Linked DNA regions of Homo sapiens: all the other regions are linked to region 1. Evidence: promoter capture Hi-C in 16 types of primary human blood cells and fetal thymus (Javierre and others, 2016). All regions are on one chromosome and are shown on one strand. The core of a region is centred on a gene start or on the middle of the fragment in contact, and the rest is flanking DNA. Distances in the headings are between cores, read along the strand shown.

Region 1 (3,477 bases), core at 279-2,778:
TTCTATAATAAAGACACATGCACATGTATGTTTATTGCAGCACTATTCATAATAGCAAAGACTTGGAACCAACTCAAATGTCCCAGTGATAGACTGGATTAAGAAAATGTGGCACATGTACACCATGGAATACTATGCAGCCATAGAAAAGGATGAGTTCATGTCCTTTGCAGGGACATGGATGAAGCTGGAAACCATCATTCTAAGCAAACTATCACAAGGACAGAAAACCAAACACCACATGTTCTCACTCATATGTGGGAGTTGAACAATGAGAACACATGGACACAGGACAGGGAACATCACACCCCGGGGCCAGTCGGGGGGTGGGGGGCTGGAGGAGTGATAGCATTAGGTGAAATACCTAATGTAAACAACGAGTTGATGGGTGCAGCAAACCAACATGGCACATGTATACCTATGTAACAAACCTGCACGTTGTGCACATGTACCCTAGAATTTAAAGTATAATTAAAAAAAAATAAGAAGGTGGCCTCTGGAGTTCCTAACTCTGGAATGTACTAACCATATGATTTTAGGAAAACTATTTTTCTGAGTTTCAGTTTCTTCATCTGTAAAATTAATGTAATAGTACCCACCTCTTGAGGTTGTTTTAAGGACAACATGTAAAGAGATTAATTTGGAATTAGTATTTAAGACAGATTGGAGAAGGGAAAACCTGTGGGTAGGGAACAGTTAACAAAGCTATTGTAAGCACTGAGCCTAGGCAAAGACAGTAAACCACTAGACTGGAGACAGTGGAAAAACAGCAAAGGAAAAGAAGTAGGACAAGCGACTGACTCCTCTCCACTCTCATTCATCTTGCAAATTCCTTTTTTTCTGTTCATTTAACATAATCTGGGAACCTAAAACTACACTTTGAAGTATATGGTCTGTCTCTGGACATTATTAACTGTTTGCTCATTTCCTTAGAGCTACAAATAACCATCTGATCTCTCTCTTCACCATTTCAACATCTGCAATATGTTCTCCCAAATCCCTTACTTCAGTCAGTTAAAAAGCAAAACAAAACAAAAATCATCCATCTTTTTACACAATATTTTCAATCTTTTCTTTGTAATTTATTCCTTCATTCTTAAACTTGCCAATCAGGCCTCCTGCAAATTCCCACGGAAGCAGGGTTCCCTAATTTAACAAAACACAAAATTCAAAAAGAAAACCAATCCTGCCATTTCTGGGCTTAAGGAAACCTGAAACTTTCCTTCAAAACTCTGCAGCATTGCTCAGTACTTTAGTGCCTAATTCCTACAACGAGCTAAGATCAGAAAAATCACTACGTAATAGGAATCTTAAAATGCGCAAGGCTTTGAGAACATGGGTTTTCAACATACAGCTTGCTCTTTCAGGATCTGTCTTCTTATTTGCATATATTTCTGAGCAGGAAGTTATGCGCAGTACTTTTAGTCTCCGCGTGAAAAGGTCCTTCATGCTAATCTAATTCAATTCAGTTCTCCTTTTTCTTTCTTCTTCTCCTCGCCCTCTTCTCAGGGAAGGAATCGTCAAAAATCAATGTTTCAACAGATCTCGCGGTGCTATTCGAGATTCCCTATTAAAAAAAAATAGAATTGATGCAAACAGCCTGTTCCTTCCGGGGTTTTGGGCTGGAACTGCAGCGCTTAGAGAGCTCGGTGGAAGCTGCTAAAGGCGGAGGCGGGGCTCTGGCGAGTTCTCCTTCCACCTTCCCCCACCCTTCTCTGCCAACCGCTGTTTCAGCCCCTAGCTGGATTCCAGCCATTGCTGCAGCTGCTCCACAGCCCTTTTCAGGACCCAAACAACCGCAGCCGCTGTTCCCAGGATGGTGATCCGTGTATATATTGCATCTTCCTCTGGCTCTACAGCGGTAAGGAGAGTGGGGAGTCCACCTTTGTTGTTTTCCTACACACCAGTCCTCTGCTGCCCCAGAACCATTAAAATGCAGAAGTTCCTCTGGCAGCTTCTCCTTTGGAAGACTCATGCATCCCCGATCCCACCCTTCTTCTTCCCTTTTTTCCCTTTGTTGCATCGATTTCATTTTTTTTTTTTTCCACATAGAGTTCAGCTTTGTTTGCTTCGTGACGTTGGGGGGCACATTTCTGCTTTGAAGGAAAACGAAAGCTACCAAGTTTTGGGAGATGGGAGATGGTGCTATACGGTCTTTAGGGTTACGTGAAGTCAAGTAAAATCGCACACTGGTGAGTTTCAAGAGTGAGACATTTGATGAATACGCCCTAAGTACTGAGACAAGGAGGAGTGCACTTCTGTAAAGGATGGGGGTACACATGCTGTAACTGGTGGGGATTGAGTGGAGGCCTACCGAGGCATTGTAATTATTCTGGGTGAGTGAGACCCTGGTAATAGAGTTATTTTGAGAGTGTGTAGAAGAAAGTGGTTAACTTGAGCTTGAAGGCCTGTTAGAACTAGACAAATTGGGAGGGGAAGTTGGTAACAATGACGTAAATTTTTTTTTAACTTAATATGACACGAGATTCAGTTTTCCCCCCATATTGTCCCTTATTTTGACTGTTTCTATTCTTTCAAAATATTTTACTTTTAAATTTCTCTCACTGCTTCAAGTATATTGAGAACTGGATAGGGAGCTCAGTGGCTTCTTGTGTAGTGGCAGCCTGAGTTGCTGCTGCTTCAAATGATAGGACTTTCTCTTTCATGGATTCACTTACTCTTAATTTAGAATAACAAATTTTCAGCAGCTGTCGGGAGAATATGATAAACTGGGGTGCAAGATGAGTGTATATCCATGATAAATGAAAGTGCTTCTGCTTTTTACAACTCAAGAGAAAGGCAGACAGTGGCAAGAACAGATGTGTGGGTTCAGATTGTAGGGTATAGGAACCCCTTCCCTCTTCTTGAGCTTTAGAGCAGCAGCTAATCCAGGTTGTTGTGTGTTTTTATTTTTTGGCTTGTTTATTTACACCTGAGAGGATGTGGAATGGAAGTGGAGGTTATGTTAAATCACAAGAACCTTGATATTTGAACTTTGTCTTCTCTGGCCACCATGTGTGGATATGTTTATGCAATTTTGGAATATCAGAAAATTTAATCTTACATTTTTTGAATAAGTTTAGGTTAAAAAAAAGAACACCTTTTATATTTCCTTTGGACCTAATTTTATGAGCCTCTTGCTTTATTATTTTCCATACATGTTGTCTAATATTTCAAAGTAAAATTTGAGTTGCTCAGAGTCTCAACTCAATCCAATAATTGTAAAGTCCAACTTAATGCCTTTAGTTAAACCCCTAATGAGACTGAACAGATCAGGCAGTTAGTTTTGCTTTGGGAGTCATACAGTTTCAATACTGTTATTTATTCTTTGCTTTCTCCTTCCTCTACCCCTTCTTTAAAAGTAGATTCAACAAGAAACTGCTTTCAGAATTTCTATTCAAGTAAGAATAACTGCACCTCTCTTTGTTAAGTCTTAAGTTTCCAAGAGCCTTAGAAATGGCTGCTGTCTTCTATTAT
Region 2 (3,477 bases), core at 341-2,840, 460 kb before region 1:
AATCAAAAAAAGTGATGAAATCATTATTTAGGGAAAACTGGCAGCAATTACACTGAGTGACACATTAACAAACATTTAATAAATGTTTGTTAAAACTGAATGAAATGAAATTGAGTACACTTGTTTCACATAAATTAACCACTTCTAGAATATAAGGTCTTCTGAAGATTTAACTTTTTAAAATTAAACTTCCAAGAAGATAGTAAACATTTTTGTTCATTCGTTTACTTATATAAAATGAGAAACTTTTTTCAATTTCCACTCATCTTTTTCTGCACCCATATATCCAAAAAAAGTGAACTGCTTACAAAGCACAATGCAATGCCATGCAGTCTGGCTTCAATTGTTGTAATTCTATATATGTTACCATATTATAAATTTTACACTCACTGTAAAAATTCTTCTCCCGCTTCGGTCAAATGCTACACAGTAGACAGATGACAAGTGCCCCAGAATTCTCTTATGCATCTTAATGTGCTGGTAAGCAGATGAAGGGAAAATATGACCAAAGCGACTACAGCCGGTTAATTGCCTGGCAGAGGTGATATTCACTGAAAAAAATACGAAATTAACTTAAAACTTAAAAGTGAAACTGATTTCATGAAATTAAGTCATAAATATTAAGATGAGACAAAACAGAGTACATATATTATAGCAATTCTGCCCTGTGAGAAGTCTAAATTCCCTTACATAGTTCATGATTTTATGAACTCCAGTTTACTACAAGAAAGCACCAAGAATACTCTTCCATTAAATCCCAAGGGACTGATATTCTGCTTGGCTTACTGTGGTTTCTCAAGCACATTCTCCTTTTGCCTTTCTTGGTACGCTATAGTCAAAGAGACTGTCATTTTAAATATATAGGTAAATCTTTCTATAACATGAAGAAATTTTAGAATAAAACTGTACTTGGTTAAGTATATTCCTCTAAAAAATTATACAGGAATTTCATAAATTATTGTCCTACCTCCTCACACCTATCCACCATATGTATGACTGCCCCTAAAAATTCAAGAGTAATACAAGTAAAAAAAAACTATACAGTGAAAAGATAAGGAAATCTATGATGTTACAAATATTTTATGTTACAAACAACCTAGGTTTGTCTATGGGTTCTTTCCTTTTGGTTTCTGAATTTAGAGGCTCTCCCTGTAGTTAACAATGAACTTTAAAGGCTTCATCTCCTATGAAGTCATTTTAAGTCCTATCTCATTTTTTTTTCTTGTTCGCTTTGCCTTGTTCTGCATTTTCTTAAAAAAAAAGCCATAACATAGCATAAGTCTACACAATTCTTCTCCAAATACCACGTGGATTCTGCTCATGCTAAAAAACAAATCTTGATCTCTATGTAAAAATTTACAGCCACCCACTTGCCCTGTGAAATCCTTCATCTTCCCTTATACACTAAAAGTGCTTAACACCCCACACAATGTATTTTAATCAAAACATAGGCTCCCTATAACTTCAAAGGTCACCTTGAGGCAAAGTGACATTTTACCATACTGCATAAATAATATAGTACAAAATGAAAATAGCTTCATGTTCAAGCAGGGCAAGATTAAAGCAAGAACTGAGTTCTAGCTAGATTAGTATGATTAGAACCATGCCACAATCAAAAATATGAAATCTTTCAACATCTCACAATTTTAAGAGCAATGAAGTCTTTCTTTCAGGCAAAGGCAGATCCACTGGCCATTTTAACTGACAAAATGACAAAAAATGAATAATGAATAGCAAAATCAGTGACATGTTGAATATAAACAATTAGAACACATAAGAGACCTGAGTAGTTATGTAATACTGCAAGATGCTGAGTAAATAATGGGAGGAACTGCATAAGCATCAGTATCAGGCAAGAGGATTTCTTTTTGGCAGGTGTTCCCATCTCAACCACAAGAAAATCCCATGACTCCAAGATAGGAAGGACTGGTACCCTAATTTGGGACTTCAGAAATCTTCCTTCTCCAGTGAAACATTTCTTACTGCTCTGAGTTCCTTAAAACAATCAACCATTACTTCTGCTTGGCTTTTGTCTCTTCATACTTTGCAGGTAGATGCAGGGGAGAAAGGTTACTTTAAGGCAGGGCTTCTCAACCTTTAAACTATTGATATTCTCCGTTGAATGATTCTTTGCTGTGGGGACTTTCCATTGCAGGGTGTTTTGCAGCATCCCTCACCTGTCCCCACTACATGCTAGTAGGATCCCCCCCACACTAAGTCGTGACAAACAAAAATATCTCTAGATGTTGTCTAGGGTAAGAAACTGCCCCAGATTAAAATCACTGCTTGCAGTATAAAAGCAAAAAACATCATTACCAATAGAAGGGGAAAAAAAAAACAAAACAGAAAAGCAATTTTGAGAAGGGGAGCTGCAGGAGATAGAAAGCAAATCCATGAACATGGGATATCTTTCCATTTATTTGAATCTTCAATTTCTTTCATCAATGTTTTATAGTTTTCACTATACAGCTCTTTCACCTATACTTAAATTTACTCCAAAGTACTTTCTTAGATTCTATCGTAAATGGAATTGTTTCACTGAGTTCTTTGGATAGTTCATTGTTAGAGTATAGAAACAATGTAGATTGTCAAGTTCATTTTGTAATCTGCAACATTACTCAATTTGTATATCAGTTATAAGAGGGTTCTTTTGGTGGATTTTTAGGGTTTTCTACATATAAGATCATGTCATCAGAAAACAGAAAATTTCACTCCTTCTTTTACTATATGGATGCATTTTGTTTCTTTCATTTTCATTTGTTTCTTTCATTTTCTGGCCTAAATGCACTGGCTCAGACTTCCTGTGCTACATTGAATATAAGTGGCGAGAATGGGCATCTTTTTATTAGAGATGGAGTTTCAACATGTTAGTCACGCTGGTCTTGAACTCCTGACCTCAGATGATTCGCCCACCTCAGCCTCCCAAAGTGCTGGTGTTACAGGCATGAGCCACCATGCCCAGCCGAGATACATTCCTTCTATACCTCTTATGTTGAGATTTTATCATGAATACATGTTGAATTTTGTCAAATACTATTTCTGCATCTATTGAAATGATCACACAGGTTTGGTGATCTGCCCACCTCGGCCTCCCAAAGTGCTGGGATTACAGGCATGAGCCACTGCACCCAGCCTTTTGCATCTATTCTCAAAAGGGATATTGGCCTTTAGTTTCCCTGTATTAACACTGCCTGAATTTGGTATCAGGGTAATGCTCACCTCATAAAATGAATTTGAAAGTATTCTCTCCTCTTCAATTTTTTGGAAGAGTTTGAAAAACATTAGTGTAAGTTCTGCTTTAAATGTTTGGTAGAATTCAACAGAAAAGCCATTTGGTCCTAAGCTTTTATTTGATGGAAGACTTTTTATTACCGACTCAATCTCATTACTTGTTATTTGTCTGTTCAGTTTCCACTTTCATCTCTGATTCTGAGTCTTTTCTTTTGTTTTTTTTCCTAAGTCTACCTAAAAATTTGT
Region 3 (3,477 bases), core at 300-2,799, 420 kb before region 1:
GCAGGTGGATCACTTGAGGTCAGGAGTTTGAGACCAGCCCAGCCAACATGGTGACACCCTGTCTCTACTAAAAACACAAAAATTAGCTGAGCGTGGTGGTGCACACCTGTAATCCCAGCTACTTGGCAGGTTGAGGCATGAGAATTGCTTGAACCTGGGAGGTGGAGTTTGCAGTCAGCCAAGATGGTGCCATTGCACTCCAGCCAGGGCAATAGAGCAAGACTCCATCTCAAAAACAAACAATTTAATTAGAAAACAGAACGTGGTCGGGCATGGTGGCTCATGCCTGTAATCCCAGCACTTTGGGAGGCCGAGGCAGGTGAATCAACTTAGGTCAGGAGTTCAAGACCAGCTTGGTCAACATGGTGAAACCCCATCTCTACTAAAAATACAAAAAATTAGCTGGGCGTGGTGGCGCATGCCTGCAATCCCAGCTACTCAGGAGGCTAAGGCAGGAGAATCGCTTGAACCCAGGAGGTGAAGGTTGCAGTGAGTCGAGATTGTGCCACTGCACTCCAGCCTGGGCAACAAGGGAGAAATTCTGTCTCAAAAAAAAAAGTAAGAAAATAGAATGTATGCAATCCTCTGATTGGTTAAAGTGTAGTAAGCATATTAGTTTCTATTAAGTAGAGAGGACAATAATAGACTAAGAAAATACTGCCAAAAACACTGGAAAGTGGCCAGGTGGAGCGGTTCATGCCTGTAATCCCAACACTTTGGGAAGCAAAGCAGATCGCTTGAGGTCAGAAGTTCAAGACCAGCCTGGGCAACCCTGTCTCTACAAAAAAAATAAAAAAATTAGCCAGGCATGGCAGTACATGCCTGTAGTCCCAGCTAGTTTTTGGTGAAGCTTCGTTGGGGGTTTCCTAAAATAACTCCAACAACTAAACAGATTAATATAGACTAAAATCTTGAAAGAAGCCACGAAAGCGACAAAAATGAATATGAATAAAATGTGATAATTCTAGTAAAATTACAAAGGTATAGAATTACTTCTTTCATGGATTTGATTCTATGGATCAAATTATGTCTCTAAAACCTTAACCAGCAATAGTAAAAGTATACAGTCTCCAAAGTTGATGCCAATCACATCTCATAACACCAATCCACAGTAAAACTTAAATAACACTAATAAGTTCTACAGGCTATTGATATTCATATTCATGGCCATTGAACATCTTTTTGCTAGGGTAATATTAAGTGAAATATGGCAAAGAAATATTATTTACAATTCCTTTCAGGCTTTCTGCAAAGTTCACTTATATAATTTGGAATGATAAACATCCCAAATCTTTATTTTTTTTAAATCCTCTCCTAAACTTTTTAACTTAATTTGGTTAATATACACAGAAGTTTCAGACTGCCTTTTCCTCCAACTAAACAAACCTGGCACTGTTTTACCTCTTCCCTTTGTGAAGCATAAAGTTCTATCTCTATAAAGTACTGAGTTAAACATATAGAACAAATATCAAAAGATTAATACTTTGGTGTATACTGAAAGAAAAATCTAAAGGAATAATAATGAGGAAAGAAAAAACATGTTCATACTAGGATTAAATGGAGAAAATACTTTTTTCATTATATTTTATATAATAAAATAAGCCCTCATATAATAAAATCTGTTTCATTTTTTAAAAAGATACTAAATTATTAATCCTAATATTACTACAATACTGATTTCAGAAATGGATATAAGGGGCTAGAAACACATATAGGCTATATAAAACCATAAACACATCTTAAAAGGATACTTCAGTTTCCATGTGGCAACAATCATAGCACTTCCATCTATTTAATATTTAGTGAGCACTTACAATGTGGAAAATACAAAAGATGGAGTTTATATTCCAGTTTAATTACTTGCAGGTGTGACAAGAATCTCTTGATCTTCTCCAGGTATATAAAAGTAATGGCTTCAGAAGCAACTCACTTCAGGCACAATTATGAGAGTACAAAGAGGAGGAAGGTGGTAAGTAGAGTGAGGCAGGCCACAAAAAGCAAAACCTAGCAAAAGTATGATACATAGGCAAGATATAGGAACTACATAAAATTAGAGAGGGTGACAAATATTCCTGGCAGAAACCCAGTCACCTCAGCCAGATAAACAGTTTAAATTAGACTACTTTCTTTCCATTTACATTTACATATAAACAAGAGATAGATTCCTCACCTCCAAGTGAATTCTGGCATGAAGAGTGACATATAACGACACAATGGCCAATAAGTCAAGAGTCAATCAATGCTAAATAAAAGCTTAGAGCAACACGTAAATATTAATTTGGCTTTAGAATTAATGCAAGGGTCCTGAGCTGTATACAGTGTAAATTACAAGCTTACTATGTAAATTACAGGATATTGCTATATGCCAATTGTACTAAAGATAAAAAACAAAATTCTTTTTTTTTGAAGTTGCAAGATTTAATAGAGTGAAAACAGAGCTCCCATAAAATGGGAGGGGACCCAAAGGGGGTTGCCGTTGCTGGCTCGAATGCCTGGGTATATCCCGATCATTGTCCCTCCCCGTGTGCTCTCAGGCGATAGATGAGTGGCTATTTCTTTATCTTCTGTTTTTGCCTAATTAGGATTTGAGTGAGCTATTTTTACTACCTGATTGGTCACGTGTGAGCTAAGTTGCAAGCCCCTTGTTTAAAGGTGGATGTGGTCACCTTCCCAGCTAGGCTTAGGGATTCTTAGTCGGCCTGGGAAATCCAGCTAGTCCTGTCTCTCAGTCCCCCCTCTCAACAAGAAAACCCAAGTGCTGTTGGGGAGGTTGGCCGATGACTGCTCTAACTGCTTCCTGCTGAACTGGGGCATAGTAGGGGTCGTGCAGTTGAGATTTCCTCGGGAAAAAAATGTTTAAAAATACAGTCTTATTGCATCATACCCTTGCCTCAGTTTAGAAATATAAGCATGCATACAAAAATCAGTAGCATTTCTATATGCCAACAGAGCACAATATGAAAAGGAAATCAAGAAAGTAATCCCATTTAGTATAGCTATAAATAAAATAAAATACCTAGGAATAAACCTAACCAAAGAAGAGAAAGATCTCTACAATGAAAACTATAAAACACTGATGAAAGAAATTGAAGATACAAAAAAAGGAAAGATATTCCATATTCATGAATTATAAGAATCATTATTGTTAAAATGTCCATTCTACTCAAAGTAATCTACAGATTCAACGCAATCCCGATCAAAATACCAATGACATTCTTCACAGAAATAGAAGAAATAATCCTAAAATGTATATGGAACCACAAAAGACCCAGAATAGATGACACCATCCTGAGCAAAAATAATAAAACTGGAGAAATCACTTACCTGATTTCAAATTACACTACAGGGCTATTGTATCCAAAAACAGTATGGTACTGGCATAAAAACAGAAACATAGGCCAATGGAACAGATTAGAGAACTGAGAAATAAATCCATATGTCTTAAGTGAACTGATTTTCAACAAAGGTCCCAAGAAC
Region 4 (3,477 bases), core at 495-2,994, 370 kb before region 1:
ATCTTGACCCCTTGACCATCTTAAAGTTGCAGAAAAAGCATCTGACAAAACCCAACACTCCTTCATGATAAACACACACACACATACACACACACACACACACACACACTGAATAAACTAGGAATAAAAGGGAACTACTTCAACTTGACAAAAGGCATCTATAAAATACCCCACAGCTAACATAATACTTCATGGGGTAAAGACTGAGCTTATTCTTAACTGATCTTAGGGATTAAGCTCAAAAAGGATGTCTCTTTTCATCACTTCTGTTCAACATTTTATGGCAGGTTCCAGCAAGGGCAATTAGGCAAGAAAAATGAAATGAAAGACATCCTGTTTAGAAAGGGAAGATAAAAACTCTATTTATAGATGCCATGATTTTTTATGTAGAACATCCTAAATGATCCATTAAAATCTATTATAACGAATAAATGAGTTATGTAAATCTTCAGGATAAAAAAAATCAATGTACAAAATCAGTTGTATTTTTATATACTTTCAGTGAACACTCTGAAACTAAAATTAAGAAAGCAATTCCATTCACAGTAGCACCAAACAGAATCAAATAGTTGAGAATAAATTTAACCAAGGCCATTCAAGGCGTCTACACTAAAAACCACAAAAACCTGTTAAAAGCAGTTAAAGAAGACCTAAACAAATGGAAAGGGAGCCTATGTTTATGTATCAGAAGACTCACTATTGTTAATACTGCAATACTTTCACAGGCATTGCATTAATTTACAGACGTATTAATGATACAATGTGTGTAAAAATTCCAGGTGGTTTTTCCCCCCCCAGAAACTGGCAAACTGATCCTAAAACTATTTTGGAAATGAAAAGTACCAGAATAGTCAAAAGAGACTTGAAAAAGAACAAAGTTGGAGGACTCACTTCTTGATATCAAAACTTACTACAATGTTTTAGTATTTAAGACAGTGAAGTATTGGCATAAGGATAGACATAGATCAATAGAAAATAATTGGGGGTATAGAAGTACACCTTCGCATTTCTAGTAAATTGACTTTTGACAAGAATGTCAAAAGAATTTAATGGGGGAAGGAATAAGGAATAGTCTCTTCAACAAATGGTGCTAAAACAACTGGATATCCACATGAAAAAGTATGAATTTGGAGCTCTACTTCACACCATATACAAAATGAACTCAAACTGGATCAAAGACATAAACGTAAGAGCTAAAACTATGAAACCATTAGAAGAAAGCATAGACATACATCTTCATAATCTCGGAATTGAAAATGGTTTCTTAAGTATGATGCCAAAAGCTCAAGTTAAAAAAATGTGTATATATATATATATATATATATATGTATATAAATTGGACTTCATCAAAATAAAATACTTTTGTGCCTCAAAAGGCACTATCAAGAAAACAGAAAGAAAATCTACATAATGGGAAAATTATTTGCTAATTATGTATCTGACATAAGGAGCTTCAATATGTAAAAATCTCTTAGAAATTAAAAATAAAAAGGTAAATAACCCAACTAGAAAATAGACAAAAAAAATTGAATAATTACATGAAAAGATCCTCAGCCTCTTTAGCCAAAAGAGAAATACACATCAAAATTACTTCATACACAGTATAATGACTGTTATCAAATAGATAACGAATGTTGACACAGATGTGGCAAAATTGGAACCTTCATATGCTACCGATAGGAATGTAATTTGGAACCTTCATATACTGCTTTGGAACATTATTTGGCAGTTCCTCAATTATCTAAACAGAGTTACCCAACAATTCCACTTCTGGATATATACTGAGGAGAATTAAAAACACATATCCATCTCAAAAATTGTACATGAATTTTCATAATAGCAAGAAAGTGGAGACAACTTAAATGTCCATCGACTGATGAATAGGTAAACAAAATATAGCATATCCACACAATAAAATATTATTCCAGAATTTAAAGAGAAGAAGTACTGATACATAGTATAAACATGAATGAACTTTGAAAATACTATACTAAAAGAATTCATTCACAAAACACCACATATGACATGTCCAGATTAGAATAATTATTAAGATAGAAAGTAGATTATTGGTTGCCTAGGACTGAAAGGCTTGGGATAAAATGGGGGTGATTGCCAATTGATGTGGGTTTTGGGGGGGATGTGATGAAATGTTCTAAAATTGACTGTGGTAAGACATAGAGAAACTGGAGCAAGATGGTGGGATAGGACTCTTCAGCAGTCATCTCCCTGCAGAAACAATAATTTGAACAATTCTCCATACATGAAAATACCTTCACAAAATCTAAGAGAACCAGATGAGAGATCACAGTAGTTGGTTATAGCATAATAAAAAAAAGACGCATTGGAGAGGGTAGAAAGAACAGTGTGACATTACCTGCATTACCTCTCCCACAACTTCATGCAACACAGAGTGGGGACACATACCATCCTTTTTGGGAAAAGAGAGAAACTTTGCCTTAGATCCCAATACCGGGCCTGCCACAGTAGAACCCAGCACTGGGCACACCCCATGGTACCTGACTCCAGACTGGTGCCTTAGACTGAGGCTACAAACCTGCCTTGTTGCCAGAGGAAAACACTTAGCCCCTGCAAAATGAACTCAACTTTTAGCCTGCATCACTGATGGCCAACTACAACTGTAAAAAGAGACAAAAAATATTATATAATGATAAAATGGTTGATTTAGCAAGAGGATATAACTACTGTAAATATATATGCACTCAGCATTGAAGCATCTGCACACATGTGCAAATATTAATCAATCTGAAGGGAGAGATAGACTGCAATATAATAATATTATGGGACTGCAACTCATCACTTTCAACAGTGGAAAGATCATCCAGACAGAAAGTCAACAAAGAAACATCAGATTTAAACTGTACTCTAGAACAAATGTACCTAACAGACATTCATAGAATATTCCATGCAACAGCTGTAGAATACACATTCTTCTCAACTGCACATGGAACACTCTGGGAAAAAATATATATTTTAGTCCACAAAACAAGTCTTAACAAATTTAAGAAAATTGAAATCATATCATGTATTTGTTTTATTTTTTTGAGACAGGATCTCACTCTGTTGCCAAGGTTGGAGTGCAGTATTGTGATTATGTCTTACTGCACACTCCACCTCCTAGGCTTAAGTGATCCTCCCACCTCTGCTGGGACTACAGGTATATACCACCATGCCTGCCTAACTTTTTAATTTTTTTTTTTTTTTTTTGTGGAGACAAGATCTCACTATGTTGTCCTGGCTGATCTTGACCTCCTAAGCTCAATCAGCCCTCCCACCTCAGCCTCCCAAAGTGCTGGCATTACGGGCATGAGCTACACTCCCTGGCCTCAAATATCTTTTTGACAAAAATAGTATAAAACTAGATTCAATAACAGAAGGAACTGCAGAAAATACATAAATACATGTATATTAAAAAACATGCTCCTGAATAACCAATGGATCAATAAAGAAGTTTAAAGG

Evidence for each region. The method cuts DNA at HindIII sites, captures the fragments that hold promoters and counts their contacts. A CHiCAGO score of 5 or more calls a contact.
Region 2: a contact is called between a fragment that was not itself captured here and the fragment with the promoter of HMGN5 in region 1, in 2 of 17 cell types (activated CD4 T cells and non-activated CD4 T cells). The highest score is 6.4, in activated CD4 T cells.
Region 3: a contact is called between a fragment that was not itself captured here and the fragment with the promoter of HMGN5 in region 1, in 2 of 17 cell types (neutrophils and non-activated CD4 T cells). The highest score is 6.8, in neutrophils.
Region 4: a fragment that was not itself captured here is called in contact with the fragment with the promoter of HMGN5 in region 1 in 1 of 17 cell types (neutrophils); the score reaches 5.9 in neutrophils.

What each region holds. Positions count from the first base shown.
Region 1 is chrX:81,200,385-81,203,861 of GRCh38, forward strand. It overlaps HMGN5 (high mobility group nucleosome binding domain 5), which reads right to left and starts at 1,529. Exons shown (of 7, transcript NM_030763.3): 1 at 1,353-1,529. It overlaps SH3BGRL (SH3 domain binding glutamate rich protein like), which reads left to right and starts at 1,718. Exons shown (of 4, transcript NM_003022.3): 1 at 1,718-1,861. The coding sequence starts at 1,817. RefSeq lists enhancers at 1,374-1,623, 1,744-1,913. The HindIII fragment of the contact is 6,013 bases long and covers 1-3,477 here.
Region 2 is chrX:80,745,179-80,748,655 of GRCh38, forward strand. It overlaps BRWD3 (bromodomain and WD repeat domain containing 3), which reads right to left. Exons shown (of 41, transcript NM_153252.5): 7 at 391-551. Among named protein-coding and RNA genes, the nearest start is that of BRWD3, 63 kb to the right of the region's middle. The HindIII fragment of the contact is 3,502 bases long and covers 1-3,341 here.
Region 3 is chrX:80,778,768-80,782,244 of GRCh38, forward strand. The region is part of intron 6 of BRWD3 (bromodomain and WD repeat domain containing 3); the gene reads right to left. Among named protein-coding and RNA genes, the nearest start is that of BRWD3, 29 kb to the right of the region's middle. The HindIII fragment of the contact is 1,403 bases long and covers 849-2,251 here.
Region 4 is chrX:80,828,625-80,832,101 of GRCh38, forward strand. No RefSeq gene overlaps it. Among named protein-coding and RNA genes, the nearest start is that of BRWD3, 20 kb to the left of the region's middle. The HindIII fragment of the contact is 6,417 bases long and covers 1-3,477 here.